Linked DNA regions of Homo sapiens: region 2 is linked to region 1. The links are contacts of gene promoters, found by promoter capture Hi-C in blood cells and fetal thymus (Javierre and others, 2016). All regions are on one chromosome and are shown on one strand. The core of a region is centred on a gene start or on the middle of the fragment in contact, and the rest is flanking DNA. Distances in the headings are between cores, read along the strand shown.

Region 1 (6,821 bases), core at 105-2,604:
TTCTCTGTGATGTAACCGTGCGAAATTATGTAAATAAAGCCGGGCAGGCCTCCTTGAACACACAGAGAACCGGATCCTGCCTGCGCCTCTGCCTGTAATTTGCGTAATGAGAATTGTCCTGAAAAGGCTTCTAGTCTCCTCAGGCCTTGCCCCTGCCGCCCGCACCCTGAGGAGGGGGCATGCCAAGGAAAACATTTGGAAGGTGGGAGGGTCCCTGGTGAATACACAGACTTGGACCCTGGGTTTGGTCCTGTTCCACCTGTCCTCTCTCCCTTCCCTTCCTCCCTTCCTTCCTTCCTTCCTTCCTTCTTTCCTTCTTTCCTTCCTCCCTCCCTCTTTCCCTCTCTCCCTTCCTTCCTTCCTCTTTTTCTCCTCCTCCTCCTCCTTTTCTGTCTTAAGGAGGCAGTGCAGGGAGACCTGGAACAGCAGGACCAGCTCTTCCCAGACCTGTTTGGATCTGAGCCTGAATCTCTAGGAAGGCGCAGTGAGGAGAGGGGGAGAGATTTGGTTCTCATCACTCACTGCTCCTTTATTTTATTATTTTATTATTTTTTATTTATTGAGAGATGGGGTCTTGCTGTGTCACCCAGGGTACAGTGCAGGGGTGCAGTCTCGCTCACTGCAGCCTTCAACTCCTGGGCTTCCCGGAACCTCCCTTCCTGGCCCCCGACTGGCCTCAGTTCTCCTCTTGCCTCTGGGTCAATCCACTGCTACCAAAGCCGGCTCCTGTGGAGAGGAAGCCTCCTGCGATGGGCCCTGTTTAACAGGGACACTCAGACGTCTCCTAGACAAAAAAAAAAAAAAAAATTGGTCTCATTAACTCCAAACTATCCATTTCCACTTGGTGGTCCTGAGTCCGCATTCCTTGGGGAGTGGGCACTGATAGTGAGGGAACAGCCCCGCCCTCTGCAGGGCCAGGCCTTGGCGCTGGGGCCTTGAGTGTAGTGGTACAAGCAGCAACGGGAGGGGCTGGGGCGAGGACCGGAGCCGGCTGTGGGCCTCACTGCCCTTTGGTCCCCAGCCCAGGCGCAGTCGAACCTCCTGGGGAAGTGCCGCCGGCCGCGCACCGCCTTCACCAGCCAGCAGCTGCTGGAGCTGGAGCACCAGTTCAAGCTCAACAAGTACCTGTCGCGGCCCAAGCGCTTCGAGGTGGCCACCTCGCTCATGCTCACCGAGACCCAGGTGCGCGCCCTCCCCGCCCCCGACGCATCCCGGCCTCCCAGGGGACACTGTTACCTTTGCACTTGTGACCCACGGGCGGTCTGAGGCATCTAGCGCTGCGCCTCGACGGTTCAGACGGCGGGCGCACGGGTTCATCTAAGGTGCCCAGAGCGCCGATTCAGTAGCTTCGGGTGGGGCCCAAGAATCAGCACTTAACCACCCCTCCTTTCATTCTGAAGAAGGTGATCCCCAGGCCGCATTCGAGAAATTTTGTTCCAGAAAGAGAGGAGGGAACATCCTGAGATTTACCGCGACGTAGCCAGCTGCCCTGACCCTTCCTCCGCAGACGGAGGGCGCGGGTAGAAAAGTCCCCGGCCTGGGTCGTTGGGGACATAGTCCTAGCTCCCACGGAGCTCCAGCCCAGCTCTGGGGTTTGCTGCTGAGTGGGGGGTTGCGGGGAGGAGGAAGCTACGAGCCCCCTCCCCATTCTGCTTCTAAGTCGTCTCACCCTGAGGCCATTCCAGGGCCGACCCAATGGGGCCCAGGCGCACGCGGCCGGGGGACTCCGGGGACAGGAAGCCCTGGGGTGGCGGTGGCCGGTTTCTCACGCCCGCTTGTGCCCGCAGGTGAAGATTTGGTTCCAGAACCGGCGGATGAAATGGAAACGCAGCAAAAAGGCCAAAGAGCAGGCGGCGCAGGAAGCGGAGAAACAGAAGGGCGGCGGCGGGGGCGCGGGGAAGGGCGGCGCGGAGGAGCCGGGAGCCGAGGAGCTGCTGGGGCCGCCAGCGCCCGGAGACAAGGGCAGCGGACGCCGCCTGCGGGACTTGAGGGACAGTGACCCCGAGGAGGACGAGGACGAGGACGACGAGGACCATTTCCCCTACAGCAACGGCGCCAGCGTCCACGCCGCCTCCTCCGACTGCTCCTCGGAGGACGACTCGCCGCCCCCGCGGCCCAGCCACCAGCCCGCGCCCCAGTAGGAGCCCCGCGGCCCAGCAGGTGCGGCGCGCACGGAGCGCCCCGGCCGGCGGCTTCTCCCGGAGGCCCCGGCGCCCGCACCCACCCGGCCCGGCCCCGAGAGCAGGCTCGACCGCCGCCCCATGGACCCCTCGCCCAGGCCGGGGCTGGAGGGATTCGGCCGCGGCTCCGGTCCTGGGCGCTTCCCTTTTAAGCAAGGGCGCCTCACCTGCTCTTCAAGAAACAGCGAGAGGGAGACCCAGGGGGCTGAAACTTGAACTCTGGTTCTTTTAAAATTAATTTTGGTTGGTGTTGGGGGAGGCGCGAGTGCGTGTGAGAAGAACCGACCCACCCCGCGCAAGGGGAAGCCTCCTGTCTCCCCTTTCCCCGCGTCCGAGAAGGCGGAAACCCACAGTGTTACCTGACTTATGAAACTTGAAACCGCCTCTGGAGCCGCCATTCTGCAGAGTATTTGGAAAAAGAAAAAAGGGTTTATGCTTACGTCTCTGGGGTCGGGGGGATTATGTCACGAGCGTTCAAACTGCTGGAAATCTCAAAACTGTACTGTCTTTATTTTTGTATATTGTATTTATATATAAAAAGAAACGTCTACGTATGCATGCTAAATTATTATTTAGCTTCTCCCATCGCCCACGATGGAATGTAAAATAAATTGGTTTTGTACTGGATCAGCGTGCACGAGTTTTGGGGGATTATGCCCGCGGCATTACAATTTGCTTGTAGAAATGATGGGGAGGGTGTCTACTCGGCGGTTGGCAGCTGAGGGTGAAAATCGGAGTCTCAAGTGGGTGTCAGGACCACCTCCGCGCCTGCTACTGGGGAGTCGCAATGTGAAGTGTTGGCAAAAATACCTGTGGCCAGGTGTCAGCGCATGCCCGGCTGCCTGGTGCACACCTGTCCCGGGACACGTGTCCCTCGGAAGCGGAGCTGTGGACTCTATTTATTTTCCTATTTCCTTGCTAGCTGTTGCTTCGTTGGCACTCCAGAAGTGGAAATACGCTATTTGGACGTTTCAGAAAATAAGCTTAAAACGACTAGGCGTTAGTAGCATGTGGGGTCCCTGTGACCTCAGGCGCTACTGAGGCACATTTCCCGGAACGCACCGAATTGCGCGGTGCTTCTCTCTCTCCTCGACCCCGGCCCTCTCTGTTAGCAGAACCTTCCTTGGCTGGCCAGGATCGGTCTTCTTGGCTCTGTGCAAACAAGTCCGCGAGGACAGCGGCGGACTGCAGCAGCGCTCCACACCGCGGCTGCAGCGGCTCCGGGTTAATCAGCCTCTGCAGCGCGCGCCATCAATCACCGCAGCCAGGCCCAGCGCCATGTGCTGCACACATGCGGGCTCAGCCCGCGCTCTCGTCCGCCCAGGAGCGCAGGCCCGCGGCCCACCCAGCCCGGCGCGACTCCCGGCCCCCTTCCCCCATCGATGACCCAGTGGCCTCTCCTGGCCCCGGAGGAGACGGGCGACGGGGACGCCGCTCCTATCCCTTCTCCCGGGCCTTCCTCCTTCCTTCTGTTTGTCACTTTCTCAGCAGCACCTGCGTGTGCCCTTCTCCTCCCTCCTCCCCTCCCCTCCTCCCAGCGGATAAAATGAGTTCAGAAGGGCCTGGCGTTTCATTTGGGTGATTACCGCGGGGCGAGCGCAGCCACTCCTCTGCCTCAGGGCGCGGGGAGATTAATATCCTCTCTGGCAACTCATTATCACCCCGGGCCCCTTCCATAAAATCAACCTCATCCAAGGCCGGGGCGCGGCTGCTGGGAGTCCGGGCAGAAGCAGCTGCTGGGCGCTGGCGCAGGGGCCGGGCCTCCGCCGCCTGGGGTCCAAAGGTGTTTAGGGGAACTGGGAGAGGGTTTGCCACTGGTGGAGGAGGCAGAGTGCCCAGAGGAAGAGGGTGGGAAAACCAGAGGGAAGGGGGGAAGACAGATGCTTTTTTTTTTTTTTTTTTTTTTTTTTTTAATCTGCAATCCCTACATTTCTTTTTAATTTCTAACACATTGGTGAGGTTCAGCCTGCAGCAATCTCTCCCCTGGCTGGCCCCACATCTGGGGATTATTTTCCCCTTGGGCTCAGCCGGCCCAGCCTCAGCGCCCTCACCAACACTGGGCAGCCAGGGAAGAGTGGGGGCTCGGCCTGGAGCTGGGGTGCCCCAGGCCTCCGCGGAGGGTCTGTCCCTCTACCCCCAGGGGACAGGCGCTTCCTCTGGGACGCGGGGAAGAGCGACATCAAAGGAAGACGCTGTTAATAGGGCCGCCCCTCCCCCGTCCTCCAGCAGAGCCAGGCCCCGGACCTGCGCCGGCCCCTGCGCCTCCAGCAGGCCGCTCAGTCGCCGCGGAATTTATCTCGCTAATAAATTTAATGATCAATTCGTTCTTGTCACAGTAGCTCTTCCCCAAATCAATTATAGCAAATTTAAATATAATCACTGGCTCGTCCTCATCCACTCCGGGCACGGTGAACAATTCATTCTGCCTAATGAACGGTCTCGAGGCCCGGCTCTGCCCGCCTTGCGGGCGCGACCCCCACCCCTGGGCGCCGCGCTCGGGGTCGCTGACTCGGCTCGGCCTGGGGCGGTGGTCCCTCGGGGCCCAGGCCTCCAATCGCACCTGAGCCGCCAGCTGACCCCGCGCATGGGGGAGAAAGTCTTTGCAGCCCTCAAGAATCCGGTTCTCCGGACCTGAAGCCAGGTCTACGCAGGGGGACCCCGGAGGGAGCTGAGGCGGTGTTTTCAGACAGGCCCAGGCTTCCCCCACGGGACATGTCTGCTGTCCTCTAGCTGTCCCGGAGGCCTGCGGATCTCACTGCCTTCAACAGAAGCGAAGGTACGCGGGGGGAGACCCCTGCGGCGGCCGTCACTGCGACCCGGGGCTCTGGGCCCCACCCAAAGCTGACCCTGTCCCCTGGAACCCAGCCTTGCCTCCTTGCCCTACCGAGGCCCCCACCTCTTGGCCACCGTTTTCTTTGCTCCAATGTGGGTTCTCCTCCCTTCTTAGAAAGGGGGGCCTTGCTGTGGGCGAATTCTGCCGGGCGTGCAAACGCATGTGGAGGAAGCCTTTTTTGTGACGGGAGAAAACAGTTCACACACGCCCCCCAGACGGAGGCCCAGGGGGCTCCTTTCCAGCCCCTCCTGGAGCTCCGGCTGCCAGGTGAGAGGCAGCCAGGAGACCCCGGTTAATCCCTGGTGTCAGGGAGTAAAGAAACAGCTCGAAGGGAGAGGAGGTGGACCTGTCCCTTCCCTCATCCGGTGACTTTCCTTCTTTGATACTGAACACAAGGCAACCAAAGCAAAAATAGACAAATGGGACTGCATCAAACTGAAAAACGTACGCGCCACAAAGGACGATCAACAAGAGTGAAAGGCAACCTGGGGATGGGAGATATCATCTGCAACACGCGAATCAGGGAATGGGTTAATGTTCAGATTATGTAACTCTCAGCACTCTACAACAAAACCAAATTAAATGGGCAAATGACTTGAATAGATATGACTCCAAATAAAATTTTGAAACGGCAACACACATATGAAAAGATGCTCAACACCAATAAGCATCAGGGAAATGCAAATCAGAGCCACAGATCCACCTCACACCTGCTAAGATGGCCAATATAAAACAAACAAAAAGCACAGAAAATAGCAAGTGTTGGTGAGAATGTGGAGAAATTGCAGCTGTGGTCAGAATGTAACATGGCATAGCCATTATGTAAAATAGTACAGAATTTCCCTCAAAAAATTAAAAATCAGGCTGGGCGCAGTGGCTTACGCCTGTAATCCCAGAGCTTTGGGAGGCCAAGGCGGGTGGATCACGAGGTCAGGAGTTCAAGACCAGCCTGGCCAAGGTGGTGAAACCCCGTCTCTACTAAAAATACAAAAAATTAGCCGGGCGTGATGGCGGGCGCCTGTAGTAGCAGCTACTTGGGAGCTGGGGCAGAGAAGTGCTTGAACCCTGGAGGCGAAGGTTGCAGTGAGCCGAGAACGTGCCATTGCACTCCAGCCTGGGCGACAGGGCTCAAAAAAAAAAAAAAAAAAAAAAAAAAAGTCAAATTACCATACGATCCAGCAGTCTCAGTTCTGGGTATATATCCAAAAGAATTGGAAAAAACAAAAAGATCTCAAAGAGACATTTGCACACCCGAGTTCATTGCAGCACTCTTCACAATTGCCAAGAGGTGGACGCAGCCTACGTGTCCATCAACAGAGAAATGGATGAGGAAAATGTGGTACACACATACGGTGGAGCGCCATTCAGGCTTTAAAAAGAAGAAAATCCTGTCACATGCTACAACACCCATGAACTCTGAGGACTTTATGCTGAGTGAAATACCCAATTACAAAAGACAAACAGTGGCCCTGCGTGGGGGTGCCCTCCTGCCGTCCCAGCTACTGCGGAGCCCAGGCGGAAGGATGGCTTGAGCCCAGGGGCTCCAGGATGCAGTGAGCTATGATGGCACCATTGCACTCCAGCCTGGGCCAGTGTGAGACCTCATCTCTAAAAAAAAATAGTAATAAATAAGCAAGCAAATGAACAAAAAGACAAATGCCGCAAGATCGTGTGAAATATCAGTTTAGATGAGTCAAACTCTAAGAGAGTAGAATGGGGGTTGCTAGTGGTTCGGAGTGGGGTACTGGGGAGTCGGTGTTTCTTGGGGACAGAGTTTCAGTTTGGGAAGATGAGAAAGTTCTAGCGTC
Region 2 (7,161 bases), core at 1,472-3,971, 1.6 Mb after region 1:
GAGGGTCTCAGAAAGGCTCCCTCCCTCCCTTCCTGCTTCACAGCTGGGGACTGGAGGCCCAGATCCAGACCCAGAAGCTGGAAAGAAATCCCAGGTTGTGAGGCCCGTCCTCCCACTCAGCCCCCAACTCTAGGCCTGGGACCCTCCACAGCCCTCCAGGCACCAGGGGACCAATCGGGATGGAACCAGCCCCTCAAGACCCAGGGCCACTACCTAGCAAGTCCCTCCTTATCTGGGTAGCCTATACCCCCCACCTTGCCTTCCCCAGACCCTGTGCTAGGGACCCCTGCCTCAGGAAGTGAGCCCTACTGAACAGATGGGGGGCGGCATTTGTGGCTCGCGGCCTCTTTCTCTGTCCCTCCCTCCCGGCCTGCCCCCTGCCCTTCGAAGAAATTGAATTCCAAGGAGGAAGAGGGGAGAAAGAACACCCAAACCCCTGCCTTCTCACTGCATAAATACCTAAATCCCGGGTCCTCCAGAGCCTGCCTGGAGCCTGCCAGCCGCTGCCTGCGGTCCTGCCCACAGCCTGAGGTCCCGGCCTGCACCTCCTCATAAGCCCACACTGGCGGTGCCATGCCATGGGCTCCCCTGGGCTCCCTCTGCCGCCCAGCCTGCCCCGCACACTCCACTCGCGCCGCCCGCCCTTTGCTGCAGGACGGGGCCAGCCAGGGCAACTCTCCGCAGCCCAGAGCTCTCGTCCCTTGAATCCTGCCGGTGGAGCAGGGGGCAAGGGGGAGCCAGGCACGCCCAGCCCCGGACCCGCAAGCAGGGACCCTCGGGGCGGCGGTCCGCACAGGGCAGGGGCTGCTGGAGACCCGCGGCCCCCACCCCCGACACTCACCGCGCGGTGCCCAGCGCGCGCCAGGGCTCCCATCAAGTCCTCTCGGAGCCCGCAGCAGGCTCCCACTTCTGTTTTTCTCTGACAGCCATGCAGGCAGCAGGCCTTCAGCCAGGCTCCCCGCCGCGCTTCCACGCACGCACACTCACAGTCACGCTCGTGCACACTCGCACGCACACGCACGCTCACGCTCATGCACACTCACACTCACATTCGTGTACATGTACACATTCACACCCGCATGCACACTCAAACTCACGCTCACGCACACTCACGCTCGTGCACGCGCACGCATACACACGCCCGCGCTCACACGGACACGAGAACTCGCCCCGCTGCGCGCCTGGCTCCCGGGACGCCTGGAGCTGGGGAGCGAGGGCCCCGGACGCCTGTAGCCGCCAGGGGAGGCCGGAGGGGCAGACGGGTGCAGAGAGCAGCCGGAAAGGCAGTGCCCGGCCACCAAGAGGCCGATTACTTGAGGGGCCTGAGGTGTGGAGCCCAGGCCGAAGACCCTGGGTGCGAGAAGGCAGCGGCCAGGAGGCCGCCCTAGAGCCTCGGGAGCGGGCGGGGGAAGGGGGATGTCCACGGAGACCAGAGTTGGTGGCTCTGACCGAGGAGGGCCTCGCGCTCCCCACGCCACTTGGCAGGGCTGGGGACACGCGCCCTCTCCCCCCTCTCCCTGGGGCCGCGCAGGGCTGTACCCGGGCTCTGCCCAGATCCCCTCGGAGCGGAAGATGCAAGTTGGCTTTTGTCTGACCCGGTCAGACAGAGCCGTTCTGTGGGATAAAGGCTTAACGCTCCGTGAACACGCAGAAAAAGCTCCGCGCTGGCCCTCTGACAATCCCATTGTCTCGGGCCTGAGCCCGGCGGTTTGGTCTGAAAGCGCCAAGTTCATGACATTTCAAAGAGCAATGATACTGGGAGAGGGGGGTGGGCAGGGGAGGGAGGGGTGTGCAGGAGAAATACATTCCTAAAATACGAAGTAACAGTATCTGACTCCCTCGCCAGCGCGTTCCTCAGCTCAGCCCCCTGCCCCACCCTCCACGAACCCATTCAGACCGAATCCCCTTCTCCAGCCCCGTGTGGACCCAGAGCCAGGCTGCAAAAGTCAGGATCACCAGGGACTGCGGTTTGGAAGGTGAAGGTGTGAAAAGATGCCCAAGTAGCTGCGTGGAAGCTTCCTGGAATGTCAGCAGAGTGACAGCAGCCGTTTAGCACAAGCTCCCATTGTCTGCACTGCCCCACAAGATAAGAATTTGCCAAAAAGGACTTTAGGTGCCCACATGAGTTTATTTTAAAGAGCTAGAGTGTTACTGTTTTCTTTCATTTGTATTACTGTTCGTACTATATCCTTTAAAAAAAAAACTATTTTCTGAGCCAGGAAGCAAAGGAGCTTCCATTTTTAGTGTTTAATTTGTTTAATGTGCCTCGGCAAAAGCAAATAATTCCTGAGAGAAAGCAGAATCCTCAGGAAATTGAATGTGTTTTGTCTCCAGCGAAGTTTCCCTTGAGTGATTTCGTTTGCTTTCTGTCTCGCCAAGCAGGCTCTGCACTGGGACCTCCAGCAGGCTGGGGCCAGGCTGGGCAGTCTGCAGCCCCTCTCCCCACCTTAGGTGGTGAGGCTTCTCTGATCCTCAGCCCACTGGCCAGGTAAACTGTGCTCCCGAAGAACAAAACGTAGCCTTGTAGAGTCATTCTAATGCGAGGAGAAAATAGGATTAGGCCAGAGTGTCAGCCAGGTAAGTCGGATTAACAGCAAGGTCCAATACATTTTGGCATTCTTGTGCTATTTTTAATTGTACAAAGGTATATGCTTCCCTTCCCTGGCTTTATTTAAAGAGGCTGTTTGTTTGTGCCCAAGAGGTAAATGATGAGCGATAAGGCTCTATGAGGAATTGGAAATGTATAACCTTGCAAAATGACATTTCGCCCTGGAAAGTGTGACACGCACACACGGGTAGATAAAGGGAGAGTGCGGAGCGTCCCGGGCTTTGTTAACGCTTCTTGCCCCCTGGCGTTGCTTTGATGGAAGGACACCCCACGCCTGGCTGCAGAGGTGTCTGCCAACGGCAGGAGCTCCTTCCCCACAGGCAGCCAGGCAATGACTACAAATCGATTCATTTTAAAAAAATATCCAAAGTCAGGTGTTAAAAAACGTATGAACCAGGATGGTAGGTCATTAAACCGTGGGAGAAAAGAGTTGGCAAAAACCTGCTTATATTATTTTTTAAAATATATATCTGTATTGCATTTTGCCACATGCAAATTTAGTCTAGGTTTGTTAATCAGGATCATGTGAGTGTGTCATAAATTAACATGATTTCTTCGGGGCAAGTCAAGAGAGAATGTATAATTGTTTAAGTTTGCAAATCATTTAGCAATTAACTTGGGGGGCAGAGGGCTGCAGTTCCCGGGTGGCCAAGGACATTCATGAGCCATGTGGAAGTTACTGAGTCGAATTGTAACTGTCCATGGCATTTCTGACCGTCCTTTCCAGGCCAAATGACAGACAGAAAGCCAGAGGGGACAGCACTGAATCCAAATGCTTTTGCATTCTGGGTGAGTGTGAACTGAGGGCACAGAAGCTTGGGGCCAAAGGAGAAGAAAGTTGCATTTGATCAAAGTTCCCCCTTTTGGGCAGAGGGCTGAGAGTGAGGATGACCAAGGGGTTTTGGCTTCCCTTTCAGACTCTGCATATGTGAGGTGGCAGGGCAGGGTTTAGGAATGTCATTTTCCTTAGATAGAGAAGGGTGTTCCCAAAAGAATTGTCCAGGGGTCAGGATTCTGGGAAAGCCATAACAGATGTATGTCTGTGAGGGCTTCCATCAGCTCGTGGAATGTTTTCTTCCTGTTGCAGAAACAGAAAGAGCAGTTTGTTGAATCTGAGAGTCGGTTTTGCCGACCTTGTTTAACTGCTGTCTGTCTGAGAGCTTCTTGCAGAGACGCTGGAGAATTCCTGGGGCGGGGGTTATTTCAAACTCAAGAATCTATCATTCCATTTTGATTAATCTGGTAAAGCAGGGTTCTGTTTCTCTTTTAAATTTTTTCTTCTTTTCCATATTTAACATAGATATGCATGTACATGAGAAGTAATGGACATTCAAAAAGCCAGATCCTGCTGATTCCACATTTCAATGGCTTGGTTTGCCAACTCATGCATGGGTGCCTCTAAACACTAATCAGTAATCCAGTTCATTGCTAAGGCTGCAGAGCTCCAGGATCTCTTATTTTCTCACAGGTGGGAAAAGACCCCCCGACCTTCTTGGTCTAAGCTCTCTTCTGGTTACTTGGTACCCACATGTTTACAAGGTATTTATTTTCATTAGACCTCCGATCGTTCTAAAGGCCTGCAGAGCCCAACCCTTCCTGCCTCCTCCTCTCCCCATCTTTAAGCTATAAAACCTTGGCGGAGTTTTCTGGGCTGTTCTCCAGGTTTTTGTTTTCCCCACTGTCCAGCATGGTACCTGAGATTGAGTGCAGGTGCAGCCGGCAGGACACAGTGGCTCCAGCGCCAGCTTCCGCTCCATCTCTACCCCATCCTTCTCCTCTGACTTATTTTGCTGTAACTCTGCACTTAATCTGATGAGGAAGGGTCCCTAGAATGTAGAATGTTGAACAAAATTCTCCCTAAAACAGGAGGAAGAGCTGGCCGTGGGGAGCGGGTTCTATAGTAGCTGCAAGTTGACCAAGTATGTAGAAAACATCAAAATGTGTCTCCATTCCCTTTCCTTGGGTCTGGGAGGAATGTCCCTGAGCCGTTCTTCCCAGCCCTTTTGTAACTAGCAGATGCATTTGTTAGAGAGGTCCTCTTGTTATCCCTGTTCTCAGCATTGTTCTTTCAGCTAGAAATTCACAGTAAAGGTGAGCCATCCTCCGAGGCCGAGGGGCATAGCTGAAACTCAGCAACAGGAACAGAAGTGAACCTCTCTTCACCATGTGTATTCGTGGGGTGGGGGTGGTGAAGGGGAAAGGAGATAGTGTTTGATTTTGTGAATCCAGGGTGAGGCTACAGGGACCCCAGAAGCCTCCTCTTCAGGCCCTTCAGTCAGCAAAGGCGGCCTCCCATCCCCAAGGCGCAAGCAGCGCAGATACCATCACAGCCGTAGCCCAAGCGCGCGGGCCCTCGGCCACTGTGTGCCTTCCCCGGACGTTGGTCTATGCGGAGCAGCCCTCAAGCCTGACTGATCCGGGTCTGCATCCCGCGGGTCTGGACGCGAGCTGGGCATCCGACCGCACCGCGGCGGGACGGGGAGCGCGGCCGCCTGGAGCTGCTTCTTCTGGGCGCTGGGCGCACGCTGCCGAGCGCGGGGCTGGGGCTTCCGGGGGCCAAGCCGGCTCAAGCCCGCACAGGCTCGCGGCGGGGCTGCCTGGCTGCCGCGTCTTGGATCCGGCCTGGGCCTGAGCTCCTGGACCTGGGGTTTTGTTTTGTTTCGTTTTTGTGGAGGAGAGGGGGTTTGGAGACATGAATTGCACTGGCATGGTGTAGGGGAAATATTTGGAGATAGTTGGCAAGAATTCATCCCCAGGTCCAAGGAGTCCAACTAAGCCCGGTTTTAGGGAAGCCCAGCCAGATGTATCTTGAGACAGAAAAGGACATCGTGCTAGGTCTGTGGGGCGGACGCTGAAGAGTTGCCCCGCTAGGAATTTCCTTCCTTTGCAACCGTGAAGGGCTCGCTGCTGCAGTCCAGTGAGCCGTGGGACTCCAATGCCTGCTTCCCACCGCCAGCCTGTTCAGGGGAAATCAGATCAAATCCACCTGCAATCACAACTCCTTTATCAGCTGGGGGGCCCCAAATCTAAAGGGAGAAATGGGACGCTTTAGGAGCCCACCTAATTTGTGATGAGAAATGGAGAAGGGGAAATTCATATCCAATAATAAACTGCTGTAAAAGTAGGTTTGGAAGAAGAAAAGTGAAAACAGTACATATGTTTGTAAGTATGTGCTCATATTTATTGAATATTTGTCTTCTCTAAGTATAGCTTTATTAGGTGTCATAAAACCCCTGAGTTGAGCAGAGTCCAAAAGCCGTCTTTTGGCCAAGCTCACACACATCAGCTCTCTTCCTGGGTGTCCCCCGTGCATTTTATTTATCTTTCAGTTTATTCAAACTTATTTTGAGCCACATGAAGGCAGTTTTATTTGGCTAGTAGAGATTGTGTTTAATTCATTGAGTATGCATTGTCAAAGTTTAGACGTCAATGCCAGCCTGAATTCCAAATTGGGAAGTTAAATATTTGTTTTTAATTTTCTGGCTCAAAAATGTTAACTAACAGAAATGATTCTTTCTGCTCTAATGTGCTTGCATAAATGGGGTTATTAGAACTTTCCCCTAAAACAACATTTGCTTCCTGTCCAGACACGTTGTGTTTGGAAACTTCACTCCTGGAAGAAATTTTTAATATGTATAAATAAAAAGTAAATGCCTGGCCTTTGAATGTTTTGGTACAGAGGCTTATAGGAGGAGGAAAATGAGAATGCAGCATTCCTATCTCAGTAGCTTGATTACAGACAAATTTAGGTTGTGGTGGAAAAGTATTAAAGGGCTTGCATTACAGAAAATATTGACACCAAAGTCCCCTTAATGGTTGTCCTTTATAAGATATGGAATTTTGTAAAGAATTTCAAGGTTTAATTTGCCAACTCTTTTAGGTTTGTTGTATTATTGTGCACTTAATCTATTTATACATACTTCTTAAATTCCGTGATTTGAAAATGACAGAGAACACAAATGCAAATAACTTCACACATAACCCTCATACTATTGGGAATGGAACCAGGAAAGACTACACCTTCTCTGTAGAGGTGTATTTCCAGTAAATCAAATTGCAGACAGTTTAAAACATGATGCTCAAACTGAGACCTCATATGCGAGTGAAAATGAACTGACTATAGAGATGTGACTCACTATAAAGAGCCAGAATTCCAACAATCTTCAAATCTGATTTTTTTAAAAGTGAGCTTTCCGGAAACAGATCTATCTAAAGCTTGGCGAGACGAGAACCCCATAACAACCATCTAGATAACTGTGCCTTCACTAGCATGTCACTTATTTCCTCCTTACTTGATTCTCTGACTTGTTCTTGAAGGAAGCAAGGATGCCTCCTGCCTACATTTGGGTCTTGGATTGACTCACTACATCACAGGACTGCTGGGCTCCAGGATGCGAAGATCCAGCCACAACTGGCACCAGAGAACAAGAGAAGCTTCCTTTCCATCTCTGGTGGCCTGCTCACCAAAGACCCTCTGGTCCCGTCAACTTGGTGTTAACTCTTGGGTGTAAATGCCTTTGAGAAAATACCCACTGCACCTCCTACAGTGAATC

The links. Contacts are between HindIII fragments. The CHiCAGO score rates a contact against its expected background, and 5 or more counts as called.
Region 2: a fragment that was not itself captured here is called in contact with the fragment with the promoter of MNX1-AS2 in region 1 in 2 of 17 cell types (total B cells and naive B cells); the score reaches 16.7 in total B cells.

What each region holds. Positions count from the first base shown.
Region 1 is chr7:157,000,840-157,007,660 of GRCh38, reverse strand. MNX1-AS2 (MNX1 antisense RNA 2) reads right to left here and starts at 1,354. Exons shown (of 2, transcript NR_147077.1): 1 at 1,237-1,354; 2 at 541-784. MNX1 (motor neuron and pancreas homeobox 1) reads left to right here. Exons shown (of 3, transcript NM_005515.4): 2 at 1,022-1,182; 3 at 1,788-2,807. The coding sequence ends at 2,141. RefSeq lists a silencer at 1,765-1,959 and enhancers at 1,728-2,380, 4,097-4,803. The HindIII fragment of the contact is 8,591 bases long and covers 1-3,165 here.
Region 2 is chr7:155,375,996-155,383,156 of GRCh38, reverse strand. It overlaps LINC03010 (long intergenic non-protein coding RNA 3010), which reads right to left and starts at 1,081. Exons shown (of 3, transcript NR_147174.1): 1 at 842-1,081. RefSeq lists enhancers at 212-1,023, 1,024-1,835, 4,571-5,071. The HindIII fragment of the contact is 1,408 bases long and covers 2,018-3,425 here.